2 separate regions of the Homo sapiens genome follow, and region 1 is linked to region 2. Evidence: promoter capture Hi-C in human tissues and cell types (Jung and others, 2019). All regions are on one chromosome and are shown on one strand. Each heading gives the region's core, a stretch centred on a gene start or on the middle of the fragment in contact. The rest is flanking DNA. Distances are from core to core; before and after follow the strand shown.

Region 1 (7,586 bases), core at 566-3,065, 66 kb before region 2:
GGCTAGGATGGGTTAAAACCGGTAGTCAAGAGGACAAGTAGCAGAGGTGAGGACCAAGGGGATGAACTAGGGGATTCTTCCTCCACCCCCAGAGATAAGAAGGCGGGCTCGGAAAGCTGCGGTATTCACCGCCACTCCTGCCTGTCTGTGGCTGAGTGTGTCACTAGGGGTAACTCCCCAGCACTTCCAGGGAGAATGCCCTGATGCAGTGATTCCGGAAGCCAAGAATAAGCACAGGGACAGTTCCCGGTGGGAGATGTGGCAGGCCTGGCAGAGACTGGCTCAGAGGTCACAGCACTGTCCAACTCTGCTTCATCTCTCTCTTAAAAAACCCAAACAAACAACACTTTATTGAGGGATGATTAACATACAATAATCTATATATATGTTATTAAAAGTTTTTATTTTTGATTTTCATGGGTACAAGGTTGTACATATTTAATGCATGCAACTTGGTATGTGTGGAGATAAGTATGCAAGGTGAAACCATCACCACAATCAAGGCCATAACCATATCTATCACCTCCCAAATTGTCCTTGTCCCCTTTTTATTTATTTGTTTTTGTGATAAGAACACATAACACAAGATCTATCCTCTTAACGAATTTTTAAGTACACAATACAGTATTGCTGGCTATGGACACTCTGATGTACAGTAACTCTTTAGGACTTACTCATCTTTATAACCAAAACCTTGTGCCCTTTGACTAATACCTTTCTCTTTTCCCCTCCCCTCAGATCCTGGCAACCATCACTCTACTCTTTGCTTCTGAGTTTAATTATTTTAGATTCCTCATGAAAGTGGTATCTTGCAGTAATTTTCCTTCTGTATCTGGCTTATTTCACTTAGCGTGGTGTCCTCCAGGTTCCTTCATGTTGCTGCGAAGGCAGGATTTCCTCCTTTGTTAAGGCTCTTTTGTATGCATCCGTTACATACTCATACTCTGCTTCGTCTCTTGAATGCTGCCTCCCAAGATGCTCATTTTATGCATGCCCTCTTCCCTCAATCATGCATCTTCTCTTTGCCCACTTCTCTTAAAGTATAAATCTCTCTCGTCCCCATCAAAACTTGGCTATCTGGTGTTCCAGTCTGCTAACATTCAGCTAGCCAAGGTAGCACTTTGTAATAAACCAGGGGTTCCAACCACACACCAGATTTTATATTGAATGACCCTAATGCTTAAAATGGATAAAAGTGGAGCTGCCTGTCGGAGGGCCAGCAGGCTCCACGTCCTGTGTGCATGGCCTCACTGGCCTGCTGTGTGCTGGTCTGGAGGTGCCCTTCGGTATGGTAGCATCCTTATTGCAAGTGAGAAACTAGTCTCCTCTGAATCTTTGATTTCAAAAGAAATAAATTTGGAGCCTTTTTAGATGGGTCGGAGAAGAAAACGAAGGTGAGAAAAGTCAACCAAAGCATGAACATTCCCTGGCAAACTCACAGCAGGGTGTGGTTTGGAGCCAGCCTTGAACCCTGCATGCTTCCAAAATGGCACCTCCTCTCAGGTTTTGTCTTCACAGGCTCCTGGTGGAGCCCAACGTTTCATGGGAATTGGCTACACTTGGAGAGCCACAAGCATGTGCCATGTGCCCAGCATTAACTGTCATTATCTCCTTGAATCTGAACAATGCTCCAAGTAGCATTGTTAATGCCATTGTGCAGATAAAGACTTTGATCCTCCATATGGACAGTGGAATAATGAGGCCTATCTTGTTCTCTCTTCTGTTAAGGTCTGTGTTAGCTTGTCTTAGAGATGGTGCCTACAGTCCTCCTCTCCACATAGGCTTTTATCATTCTTCCTGTTGATAGGTGGAATCTGTTTCCTGCTCCCTGAATCTGGGCGAGCCTGTGACTTGCTTTGATCAGTAGAATGAAGCAGAAGTGACACTGTGTCAATTCCAGGCCTAGTGGTTGAGAGATCTGGGAGTTTCTGTGTTGGCCCTCCTGGAAGTGGGCTGCTGTGCTATAAGAACATCCATGCTATCCTGGTAGAGTGATGCCATGGGAAGAGGCCCTGGGGGATGAGTCAATATGTGGAGGAAGAGGGCACCCAGCAGCACATGCAGGTGCAGATACCTGACAGAAGCTGTCTGGGAGGCTCTAGTCCCACCCAGATGAACACAGGTGTGGCCACAGCTGACATGGTGTAGCTTTAATAGCTTGTTTTAGTTTAATAATAAATTGTTTCAAGCTGCTACATTTTGAGGTGGTTTTTTATGCAGCAATAAATAACTGTAAGAGTTTGCCTCTCCGGAGCTTGCAGTGAGCCAAGATCCCACCACTGCACTCCAGCCTGGGCGACAGAGCGAGACTCCGTATCAAAAAAAAAAAAAAAAAAAAAAAAAAAAAAAGAGTTTGCCTCTCTTTTCACTGAAAATTAACTTCTTGTGGCAAATGGTCAGCTCTGATGTTTTTCAAAATTAGGAACAATTGAGCTATATTCTTCCTGGAGCAATGGCAGACAACGAATTGGAACCAGGAAAAGCCCAACTTTAAACCCTGGCTTCCTGAGAAAATCAGCATCAACTTCACTCCCTGCAGTCCATTCTAGCCAGATTTTGTTTGGTAGTGGCGGTGGTCTGAGCTCATAGCCAGGAAATTTGAATGCAAAAATTTCCACTTTTGGTGGGTTGTGACACAGTCTACATTCTACTTTGGGAAATACTTGTGTTTTCCAAGGATAGCTTAGTTTATCATGTGAGATTCTGCTTCAGTGGCCATCCTTATGCTGATACTATGTGAAGAGACAGGATTGTCTTTCATCTTAGAAAGATCTAGATGACGTTTTTGCTTTGCTAAGGGGTGGGATTTTAGGCCCTGGCAAAGGCAGGTAACCTAACAGATGCCTCATGGATAAAAATTCTGCAGAAGCAAGGTGCTTGGGAAGGTGGGCCTGGAATAGTAGTTTTTCTCTGAATGTGGGGTAGTTCATCTCTCTATGTCAATTTTTATTGGGTAGGGCTTGCCTGCCTTTATGTTTTTAAAACAAATGTTGGTTCTATATTTGAACTCCCTGAGCCAACTTTGATGAGGGGCAGGAAGACAGAGCCAAGATGGCAAAAGCATTCTGCAGGCATCGATTCCCTACATGGTGGCTTCTCATGTGATCATTTTCCAGCCCCTGGAAGCCTTTTGGGAACTCGGAAGCACTTATCCTCAGACATGTGGCTCATTCTTGTTTCCTCCAGGAGCCAATAGGTGGTAGCAACGGGCCAGCAAAGAAGCACCTGCTAAGGTGGGTGGTTCAGCCTAGCTGTCAAGGCGATAGAAGCAGCTATGTGGTTTAAGTCAAAGAATACCTCTAGAGAAGAACTTTAAGTCTGAATGTATGTGATGCAGACACTAGCTTCTCAAAACAGCCTGGCTTAGCACAGACTCCATCTTCCAAGGATTTTTCATCTCTCTGAATATCTCTCTAGAATATCTATCTACCTTCTTGGCAGATGGGAGTAGCCAGGCACATTGGGAGTAGCCAGGCTGCATCTGAGCACCTGCCAAATGGTGTGCAGCCTTTGGGGGCTGTGAACACATGCCAGTTGTGCTCCTTTCCCTGGTAGGGCCTGACCATACCCTGGGCATGTGGTCCAAGCCCAGAAAGGTGCGGGGAGGCACAAAGATGCAAACAGCTGGATGGGCAAACACAGGCACAAACATCCCATGAGCACTGACTGTGGGGATATGTGGAGGCTGTGAGGATGAGAAAGACATGATGGAAGGATGATGAGGCAGGGATTGGCATGAGGCTGGGCTGCTCAAGGAAGGTTTGGTGAAGATGTGGAGTTTGGGAAGAATTTGGAAGAAGGAACCCAACTTGGTGGGGAAAAAATACTGTGGAGGTGGAGGAAGCATCGGAGGAGCTGCTGTGATGGACTTTGATTGGTTCAGCCGATGAGAAGTCTCGGGCCAAAGCAGCTGTTGACTAGGGGGGTACCTGGGAGCTGATGGTGAGAAACATTAGTGTGCGGATTCCTGTGCACCAGGTTATGGCCCATCGGCGGGGGCAGCCGCGTCAGTGTGGATAATATGAATGTCATCAGCAAACCAGATTCAGAGGCACTCACAAAGCTTGACTTGCCTGACACCTTTTATCCCACATTCCTGTTGTCGAATAAATATCTTTCAGGCCTTCAGAACTTTCTAGACTCAAGTCTTTATTAGAAAAGGTGGCATCATAAAGAGTCTATCACAGTCTCTAGGGGGCCTCCTGTAGCTCCGCTGACCCCTATTACTGCAGGTGTTCCGTACATCTTCTATTTGGTGTGATTTACACAGACTCACAAGGTGAAGAACCCCACTGGGATAAAAAGACCAGAGATGTCCCAACTTGGGGGCAATGATTTGCTTTTTAAGAACAATGTCTTTCAAATGTTATTGACCACAAGTTATACAAAAAAATACATTTTTACCATATAACCCGGTATACACATTTTAATGTGCAATTCGTAATTGAAATTAAAAGTTCATTAAACAATTTTCACTTTGTATTATATCTTTTTTATTTTTTAAAAAGCTGACAGTGACACACTAAATGGATCTGATAACCCCAGCAGTTTTCTTTTTACAGTTTGTATCTTTCTTTCCAACCAAGATACCTCTGGGTTGACTTCTAAAAACAGATGCTCTCACTTCTTCAGAGACCGCCATTAACCTGCTTCTTGTGATCACTTGACTGGGTACTGGGCAGAAGTTTGTCTTCTCGATAAGAAAGAGCAGTGCTCAGCAGATTGAGAGAACAAATTGTAGAACTTAAGACAAAAACAGTGACAGAAAGCCTAGAAGCAAGGATTTGATTTATTCACATAGAGTTGATGTGATTATGTGTTTAGCATGTAATTGCCTTGGTTGCTTTCTTTGGGAGCGTTTCTCCCCCATCCCCCACCTGTATTTTAAAAACCTTAGGGTCAAGGAGCAGGCAGTATAGCCTAAAATAGGCTTGTGGTACCAATGTCATGAACCCTTCCTAAGGGACGTGAGTTTGCAGCTCCTAGTGTCTTTCTGGGCATTGTGCAGCAAAATAGTTAAAAAGCCAGAACTCCAGCTTTCCAACACTGAGCATGGATCCCAGCTCCTCCATGTCTTTTCTGTGTGAACTTGTATAACTTCAACTGTCTGTGCCTCAGTTTCTTTACCTGCATGGGGCAATAATCACAGTACCTACACCACAGGGTTACTGAAAAGACCAGAGGAGAGAATGCTGTAACATGAGCTCAGTGCTGGGGACATGTGAGTGTCACCTGTTGGTATCTGATAGGGCTCCCTGAGGCTTCCTGTTAGACAATATCTTTTTACCAGCCTACTTCCAGCAATAGGCTGGAAGTGATAATAAAAGCATATTCCTTTCTTTAAAAAACCCTATAAACCTAAACTTTTAATAAATTCTGATAGGCCTTTCCATCAATAGACTGGCTTTTCGAGTCTCATAAGATAAGCTAATTTTTGGAAAAGTTTTGCTTGTTAATATCTCACAGCCAACCCAGAGTCAGTAAAATCAACAGAGAAATGAAATACAGGCAGGTTAACAAGTTTCAGCAATGTGTCACAGTGGAACCCTTTAAAAAATACTGACCAGGCTACAGTGTCAGTAAGATTCCAAATTATTGTCTAATAGTCATCACTTTCTTGAACTACATAGGAATGGACTAGATAAAAAAAATACACTTAGAAAATCAACATAGTTTTACTCATAAGAGATTGCATGAAAGAACTTACCTTGAGATGTTCATGGCAAGCAACATGATTCCATATACTGACAAATTTTATTTTTCCATTTGTGGCATTTTCTCCCCTAATAACTGCTCTGTTGTGACCATGGGAATGTCAGGTATATAAAAATACCCAAATAATGAGCCCTCTCCTAAAATGATAAAGAAAACCAATTTTTTTATTTCTCCTTGTCCTCTCCAGCCCAGCTTCATACTGACCTTAAAACTTTGGGCAATAAACCTGTCATATAGTGTTGCGTGCTTGGTTCCATCAGCATTTTTTGGTGTGTGTGTGTGTGTGTGTGTGTGTTAGCCAAAACAAACAGCGTATTGTCTACTACGAACATGCAAGGACAAGTTTTTTGGAGGAGCTTGGGTAAGCGTTGTGCAGGGACTTAAATTTCGGCTTCATGTGCATGACGGTTGAAGGCTCCCTTGTCAGTCAGCCTGGGGCAGCACAGGAAGGGGGAAGAAGGTGAGAGAAGGAAAGCAGTTGTCTCCTAGGAATACAATGAAAGGTGGGGCTGAGGGGAAAGAAAGGAGAAGGAAAGACATACAGGAGGCCTCTCTGACCTAACAGGACACCAGTAATCCGTGTTGCTTTCCAAGATCCCTGGGATTAGCACAAACACAATTGATGCGTATTCCGCAGGTGCCTAGTATGGAGGCTTCCTCAGGCTACCTGAGAGGAATAATTTTCCTCTTGTGAGATGCTCTGTCTAAATCCACTTTGATTATTTTTCTGGGGTTCGCTGTGGTTGCATTAAGATTTCTAAGGTAGGAGGCATTATTGTTTCTTCTCTCTGTCTTGCACCTGCTAAAGGTGATCAGTCACTTCCTATCTGGAAAACCTAACCTTCCACCCCATCGTCACCCTAGCCCAGGCCCATATCCTTCCTTAGCTAGATAATGGCAGTGGTCTTGTCTCCTATACCTGTTTCCTGTGTCACCTTTTCAACTTGTTCTCCCTCTTGGAATCATAATCATCCTTCTAAAATGAAACGCTGACCATGTTATTGTTGTAAGCTCATGGACATCCACTGCCTTCACAGTGATATTCTAACTCCTTAGCATGGCGTGCGAGACCTTTCACCATCTGACTAGCCCTGCTCACTTATCTCAGGAGCACTTACCTTGCTACAACATAGACACCTATTCTCTATGAGTCCATACTTCAATTCCTTTGTAGGTGTTATCTTCTCTTCTGAGAAGGTAACCTGCTCCCCATCCCTGACTCATTCCATGTTGTTCTGTGACAAACTCCTACTTATAAACATTAATCACAAATATTACTTAGTTAACCCTACAATGATAATTGGAGACTCCAAAACCCAAGCTCAACAATTGACATAAAAGCCAGAAAGAAGATAAGTAAAGAAGCAGAGGACTTGACCAACACAGTAAAGCAACTAGATCTAACAGATATATACAGAACACTCCACTCAGCAACAACAGAACAACTTCCTCTCAAGTGAACATGGGACATTTTCCAGGACAGACCTTATGTCAGGCCACAAATCAAATTTCAGTGGATTTCAAGAAACAGATATATTCAAACTATCATCTGTGACCATGATGGGGTCAATTTACACATCAATAACAGAAGAAAAACTGTAAATTTCACAAATTTGTGGAAATTAAATAAGCCACTCTTACACAATTAAAGGATCAAAGAATAAATCACAAAAGAAATTAGAAAATACTTAAAGATGAATGAAAATAAAAACACAACATACCAAAACCTATCGGATTCAGTAAAAGTAGTGATTTAAAGCTGTGAACACATTAGGCCAGAGGTGGTGGCTCACACCTATAATCTTAGTACTTTCAGAGGCCAAGGCAGGTGGATTACCTGAAGTGAGGAGTTTGAGACCAGCCTGGACAAC
Region 2 (7,596 bases), core at 4,356-6,855:
CAGGGCTTGAATTATGTTTTTGTGTGGGTGTGTGCTGAAGATTGGAGAGGACTGATCTTTAATAAGAAACTAGACAAGTCCAGGCAAACAAGGACTGGCTTGACATTGTCTTTAATCAAGACAAAGGGCTCCACATGGGTCCTTCACCTTCCTTGTCCATTATTCAGGTTCTATTACCATGTAGGAACAGAATTTCCAAAGCACTACCCTTGCATTCAAGGGCAACACACTTCAAGCTGGTTCCAATTAGGCTGGGCCAGTGTGGATGTCTCACACGCGTCAATATTTGCAGCTGAGCTAGTCAGATCTGCAGGGGTATCCTCTAGACAGCAGGAGACCCTTCTTACTGCTGCCTTTGTGAACAATCCTGCAGGCATTTACACCACCTCCCTCTCGCCTCCCTTCACAAATACCATTTCTATCCTTTGTACCCCTGTGGCTACTCTTAGATCTCCCCTTTTCCAAATACCTGGGAGATATGCCACATGGACATTTCAAGTTTCCCAAATAATTTCCATTTTATTAGTGACATTTAGACTTAATACTGTCACTTAAACATTTTTTGAGTGCTCACTGCGAAGGTGGAATTTTGACCCATGTCTGGAAATTTCTGCAGGCATTAATGTTGATGAAATGAAATTAAATCAGATCTAATTGCACAGTAGAGGTCATTTTATATAAGAGGAAATTGAGGCTTATTTGACATGCTCATTGCCAGGGAAAGAGAGAGACATAATAGCAATCTGCAGAACTCGATTTGGGGCTAGTGAGAATATACACACAAGAATGGCAAGAATGCCAGATCCTCCTGAAGGCTCTAGAAACCGTTTCTTCCTACAAAGGGCACCAACCCTCTGTAGTTTATTTTTATCAGCCAAATTCCACGTTTAAAATATATCTACTCCAAAGTAAATGTTATTAATGTAGTAGTCAGATCCCTGCATTGCAGGGTAGAAAGTATCTCAGATCTTCGTTGCCAATACTCAATTTCCCCCTATTTATTTCTAGTGCAGGTTTCACAGCAAATCTGTTTTCTAATTTGCTTTTTTCTTACATCTCTGAACAGAATTGAGGAGCACTGGTCTTCCACCGTTTTGTTAATCACATTGAAAATGTTCACCTATTCTTTTTTATTCATTTCACTTTAGGAAAATGAAAAAAGTTGTCCTGGCTTCTCTCGCCATGCATTGCCAAGGACGTTGCTCGCTGGTAGTGGCCAGTGTCAGCGGAAACGGTGCTCCATCCACCACAGCTGACCCGACTCATTTTCGATAATAAACATTTCCAGGGTAGCGAACATCATGGAGGCCTAGGCAAAGAACCAACTTTACGACCGCCTTGGTCAGCAGCAGGCCAAAGGAAAATAAGCCGCGGGAATGGGTCCGCGAAGCCAAGGACGTTATTTCTCGCTCTTGGGGGCTCTGTTTTAATGCCAGTTGGCAGGGTCCTCAACACCTTCCATTTGGGGTCTGGAGAGTCTGTGTGTCCTAGTCAGGAGAGGCAGGTTCTGTGCAAAACGCACTCCCCACCTCGTCCTTGAGGATCCACTCTGTTGGGAGGACGCTCTGACCTTGCGCTCCGAGGCGGCGCTCACAGGCGCCAATTCAGAATCTAGTCTTCCTCTCCCCTTCCTCGCTCCCTCCTTCCACCGCCGCAGTCATTCCCCGCGGAGTTTCGTTGTGTTGTTACACAAGCCAGCTTTTGGTTTGTTAGTTGTTCGCATTCCCCCAGGGTTTGCAGCTCCCCGATCTGGCTCAGCTCTTCTTCCCATAGTTTCTTTGCAGCTAGCAGCTCCTCATTTCTCTTTTCGTCAATTTTCTTCTTATTTTTAAGTATGATGTGGCGGATCTTTTTTGCAAAACTACGGGCATGTGTACGTGTGGAGCTTGGTACTATAACCTGATGCATAAAGTGCGTTTTTAGCCCGAGCTGCTTTTTTATTTTCCCCTTCAAACGTAAATTTAAGAAGAAAATTAAGAGACTCAATTTGACTTTGATTTTGAACCACAGGACTCATGGCTCAGTGCTCTTAAAACTCTTAAAAACACAGTAAAAGCGCAGGTCCTGAGCAGAGCCAGGACTCATGCAGGAGCGAAAGCGGGCCTATTAAGGCCTGAGGCTAGGACGTCGTGAGGAAGACCCGGGATCCCGGCCCTGCGGCCCCTGCGGGCTGCTGCTGGTGGGTACCAGCTTTCGTTGTTAGGCCCAAGTCTGGCCAGGGCTCTCGGGGAGTGCCACCTGTGTTTTCTGCCCTCTGTTACTTCCCGCAAGAACCGAAATGCGCACCTGTATGCCCAAGTTGGACTTAAATCAGCTTTTTCTTAAGGTTTCTCCTGGAGTCCTTGAAATGCATGGGCCCGGGGAACATCCCGGCCTATTGCTTGTTTTAACTCCCGGAAACAAACCCACCAAAAATCAAAGCCAAGTATGAGACATGAAGTGGGGGCGACTGTAGCTCCAAGAGCGGCCCTGTCACCGAACCCCTGGGTGTTTAGCAGTGTGAAGTTTCGGGTGTTGAGTTCACGGCTCAGGTGGCGTGCAGCAAGGGAGTTCTCATCAGTAACCCCCCTTGCCGCCAACCCCCAGTCCCCAGAAGGGCAGGCACCCCTTCGCGCCTCCTTTTTGACTCCCGCTTTCGGCAAAGAGTTTACCTCTCTTTCTTTTCCTGCCTTGGGAAAACTGGGCGAGGGCCCGAAGCCTCTGGGGTACCCTCAGATCCATCCTCTGCCCTGCTAGGAGTCCAGCCCCAGGCGGAGGAGTTTTGCCCCAGGTTTCTGAGTGCGCCCTCAGCTAACAGGCTCCCGCGACCCTGGAAGCGGAACTTTGTTGCACTCCGCTTCCAGAGGACGCTGAAATACGGTGCCAAACCCAGCCAAGCAAAAACGCAGAATCCGCGAGCTCTTTACCTCTGTGCGCTCAGCGCTGACTAGTAGCTGTCCCCGGGCCATGGAGAGGGCTAAGCTGCCTCCTTGGGAGGTGGGAGAGACGTTTCTTTTCCTTCTGCAATCTCATCTTAGGGCCATCTCTCACCAAGCCTAGCCTGCAGCTCGGGAACCCGCGATACCCGGCCGGGGGACGACAGGGGGCGACAAACTGTAAGGTTTTCCCTATGCCCGACCGTGCAGAAGGCTGCAGCGAGGGCTGTGTGCTCCCGATCGCGCACAGCTGGCTGCGGGAAAGGGGCCAGGATTGAGACGAAGGCTCGCGGACTCTGCTACCGGGGAGAACCACCCCCTCTCATCGTGCGCAATCCCCAGACTCACCCCTCTACAGTAGCCCCCAGCCACGGGCGGCCTTCACGGGGACGGGGGCGGAGTTTTGTCCTGGACTGCGACTCCTTGCCACTTTTCCAAGCTCGGCAGCAGAGGTGGGGTGGACGTTCCCCTGAAAGGGTAGTTGGGCGAACCAGCTCTCACGGTGTCACGACCGGCTTTATTTCCTCGTCTTTAGAGTGTGCCTGTTGACTCCTCACCTACTGGGGGGAAGAAGCGGCTTTAGCTGCTTTTCCGGATCACGAGTATCCACTGGACTGAGGCAGGGATGTGGCGTTCCTTTATCTCAGAGACTCCAAGGTCTGGAAATCAACCTTTCTTGGTATCTCGCGCCCGACGAAGCTAGCAGATTCCGCAATGGAGAGCACTGGGCAGGGTGCGTCCCCACTCCCCGCACCCCCGGAGCCCCGAGCATACTGTGCGTGCTTAGTCCTCTCTTCGCTGCCTTCGCGGAACTCCTGGCTTAGGCGTGCCCACTTTAATCCAAACCATTCCCTTTCCCTGTTCCTTACTCCAAACCTACGCTGTCATGGACAGGCCTAATCTTCTACATAGCTTCCCCTGCTCCCACTCTCGCACCCTCCTGCCAGTGCACTGACCCTCAAACCTCCTCCAGGTCTCCAGGACCTCCCAGAGCCAGAGACTGTACTGTGTTCATGCCGCCGGAGAGGAAGAGTTCACTTCTTTTAAACCTGATTTTTCTTTTTCCAGGAGTAATTCTTGTCTGTGGCCCCACCGCGTGCTCTCTCTAGAGAGTCCAGGAATTATGAGCCAGTCACTCCTGACAGATACATTTAGACAGGTGGATTAGGAGCCAGGGATGCTCTCTGGCCCTACAGCGGAGGCAAAGGGGTCGGGGCCTCCGCAGCCATGGCTCCCCAGGGTGGGCTGATAGGGTCCATGTGCTCCTCAGCCACTGTCACCGCGCTGGCGCCATACTCAACTCTGGGTGGCTAAGGAGAGCTAGACCCTTGGGGTGGGCAGGAGGGAGGGGAAGAGGGTTCTCTCCTCCAGGGGAGCGCTGGGAGTCTCAGAAACCTCGGCTGTTCCTACTCTCTCCCCTATGCCCTCTTCCTGGTCTAGCACATTCAGCCCAATGCCTTTGGTGCTTACTGGGCTCAACCTCAGAGCTCTCAGATCCTGACCCCCTCAAATCAGTTCATGTTCAAAACCACGAGTTTCCTCCTCTTGGCCCTCACCGCATGGCTCCCGGACACAGTTAGCTGCACAGGTTGGGGAGTTCAGAACTGCTTTGGTGCAGGGTAGAAACAGAGAAATTGTTGATGTTCAATCTCAGGGGTGAATAATTCAGGGCTGCGCAAAACCTCATTTAAATGAAGGAGAAATGACCATTCTGTGGTTTAACAGAGACTTCCTGAAGCTGCAGGTGCTGGGAGAAAGACGAGGCCAGGCCACCTGGGATAGAGTGGTGCGAGATTCCACCGCCAGGGAGAAAGGAACTTGTCCTTCAGACCTAGAGCTGGAGCTATGCATTTGGCCTCCCGCCGGTCGCGCTTGGGGACAGGAGGGCGCCGGATCTATGCGCCCCTTAGCAGCAGATCGGGATCCTTTTGCCTCCTGCCCCTTCTGTCACTGCTTGGAGAGGGATGAGTTCTGGTGGCTGGGCCTGGCTGTAGGAGACAGGATTTGGACCGTGCCCCTCTCGCATCACCGAAATCACCCCCACTATTCCAAGAGTGGTTGGCTATTAAACGTGAAGATTTCCTGAGAGAAGGATTGAGGACCTGGCCAGGAATGGGACACAAGTTCCGCCTTGTGTCTTCCTGACAGGAGCCCTGCACCGCGCTGGACGCTCACCTTGACACTCCCAGCCAGCTGGGGTACTGATCCCACCCTTCCCCGGCCGCTGCCCCGGGAGTGGGGAGGTAGAGAGAGCCACACCCGAAACACCTTTCCACGATAAACTTTTATTCTCTATCTTATTATTAATGGTGGCGGAAATAAAACTAAAACCAAAACGAAAACGAGTACTAGTACTAACACACTAATCAATTTGAGATGACTTCCCCCTCATTCCCAAAGCTAGAGGAGGAAGGGGGCTGAAAGGGGCTCAGAGCAGTGGAAGGTCCCAGGCCCAGCTGGGGTTGGGACGTGTGTGTGTGTGTGTGTGTGTGTGTGTGTGTGTGTGTGTGTGTAGAGGGGTGGGTTCCGGGGGGGTGGTGGAAGAGGGCCGAGGGGGGAGGATAGAAGGAGGGGGTAGAGTTTCAGGGCGGGGAGGGGGGCGCTGGGGCGCAGTGACGGGAACCAATGAGCTGCCAACTCGCGCGTCTCCGGCGTGACTGCCGAGATTGACGTGGAGGACACGTCAAATTGATTCCCGCACGCTGCAGCCTCCCGGTCAGACGAATTTCTCCCAATCGGATGAAGTTCACCCTGGGCCTGGGGTCGCGGGCGTGGAGAGTGTCCTGGGAGGGGGCAGCAGCGGCGGCGGCAGGCCCTGGAGCGGGCGGCAGCGCGCTCCGCTGCCGCGCACAGCGCGTCTCCAGCCCGCGGCTGGGCCGCCGCGGCTCTCGGCTCTCGGGCGCCCTCCCTCTATGCCTCTCACGCGGCGGCGGCGGCGCCCAAGCTCTCCCGGACTGCGCCGGGCCCAGCCCCGGCCACCCCGGCCACCCCGGCGCCAGGCAGCTGGCCGGCCCGCTCGCTATGGGTAAGGGGCGGGCGACAGGCAGGGCTCGGGAGGGCTGATGAGGTGGGTCGGGTCCGCCTGCCTCCCTTCCCTCTCGTCCGCTTTCCCTGGGCGACCCAGTCCTGGGTCCTGGAGAAGCTGCATTCTCCTCTGATCCCCAGCCTTCAGGGGGCAGTTGAGCAAGTCTGGGAAGGGAGTGTTCCAAGTAGACGCGCTAAAAGTCGCGAAAGGGCACGGAGGGCTACAATGCGCCGCGCTCCACTCCGCGGCTCCTCTGCGCCCTTGCCCACTCCAAGCCAGACCCAGGCGGTTTGCCCTTGGACTCCGAGCTGTCTGGGGACCCACAGGTCACCTTTGGAAGTGCGCCTGGGTGCAGTCCCTCGCTCCGCGTGGGGACCCTTGGCTAACCCGCCGGGTGTTTTCTCCCCCTCCGGCTCACTCTTGTCTGGCGCATCCGCAGAGCAGACGTATGGCGAGGTGAACCAGCTGGGCGGTGTGTTCGTCAACGGCCGCCCCCTGCCCAACGCCATCCGCTTGCGCATTGTGGAGCTGGCGCAGCTGGGCATCCGACCCTGTGACATCAGTCGGCAGCTCCGCGTATCCCACGGCTGCGTGAGCAAGATCCTGGCGCGCTACAACGAGACCGGCTCCATTCTGCCCGGGGCCATCGGGGGGAGCAAGCCCCGCGTCACCACTCCCAACGTGGTCAAGCACATCCGGGACTACAAGCAAGGAGACCCTGGCATCTTTGCCTGGGAGATCCGCGACCGGCTGCTGGCCGACGGCGTCTGTGACAAGTACAATGTGCCTTCGGTGAGCTCCATCAGCCGCATCCTGCGCAACAAGATCGGCAGCCTGGCGCAGCCCGGACCGTACGAGGCAAGTAAGCAGCCGCCGTCGCAGCCTACGCTGCCCTACAACCACATCTACCAGTACCCCTACCCCAGTCCCGTGTCGCCCACGGGCGCCAAGATGGGCAGCCACCCCGGGGTCCCGGGCACGGCGGGCCACGTCAGCATCCCGCGCTCATGGCCCTCGGCACACTCGGTCAGCAACATCCTGGGCATCCGGACGTTTATGGAGCAAACAGGTCAGTTGTGGCGGCCTCCGTAGCCTTCTATTAAGGGGCAGAACCTGGGGCGGGCAGGCTTGCAGGAGAGGACTCACACTCGCTCTCCTCCCGGGACCGGTTCTGGCTCAGGGGAGGGCTCCACACTGGCCAGGGAGGCTGGGGGTCCTGGGCCTTTTGTAAGAGACCTCGGACATCTTGAACTTTTTATGACAAATATGGAAAATATTTCCCAAATAGAAGAGCAATCGCCGACCACAAATTTGGAGGCCTGAAATTGTGCTTTTTCATTCTTGCAAAAAGTATGCAAGCCCCTGTTGCCAAATCTAAGGGGGAAAAAAACCCGCTCAATTTTGAGACCCTTTCTTTAGCTCTCAGAATCCTTCACGATTTCCCAAGGGTTCTGTCCCCCACTCCCAGGCCCAGTGGCTCTTCTGAGTTAAAGGAAAAGGGATCTTGTGGTCGATTGAGTGGCCTACATCTCTAAGGTCCTGTGGCCTTGCAGGTCCTGGAGTTTGCGGTGATGGCTGGTGGGGCTGCAGCCACCTTCACAAGGATTTGTCATTTATCTGCAACTAAAGCTTAACACACTATAGGTCAAGTGGGTG

The links. The method cuts DNA at HindIII sites, captures the fragments that hold promoters and counts their contacts. A contact is called where the count stands out against the background at its distance.
Region 1: a contact is called between a fragment that was not itself captured here and the fragment with the promoter of PAX1 in region 2, in 2 of the 25 tissues and cell types used here (H1 embryonic stem cells and thymus).

Annotation. Positions count from the first base shown.
Region 1 is chr20:21,637,558-21,645,143 of GRCh38, forward strand. The region is part of intron 1 of LINC01726 (long intergenic non-protein coding RNA 1726); the gene reads right to left. Among named protein-coding and RNA genes, the nearest start is that of LINC01726, 62 kb to the right of the region's middle. The HindIII fragment of the contact is 8,238 bases long and covers 1-5,934 here.
Region 2 is chr20:21,700,059-21,707,654 of GRCh38, forward strand. It overlaps PAX1 (paired box 1), which reads left to right and starts at 5,606. Exons shown (of 5, transcript NM_001257096.2): 1 at 5,606-5,940; 2 at 6,380-7,009. The coding sequence starts at 5,655. LINC01726 (long intergenic non-protein coding RNA 1726) reads right to left here and starts at 3,527. Exons shown (of 5, transcript NR_109878.1): 1 at 3,264-3,527. RefSeq lists enhancers at 1,028-1,633, 2,845-3,449. The HindIII fragment of the contact is 9,805 bases long and covers 1-7,596 here.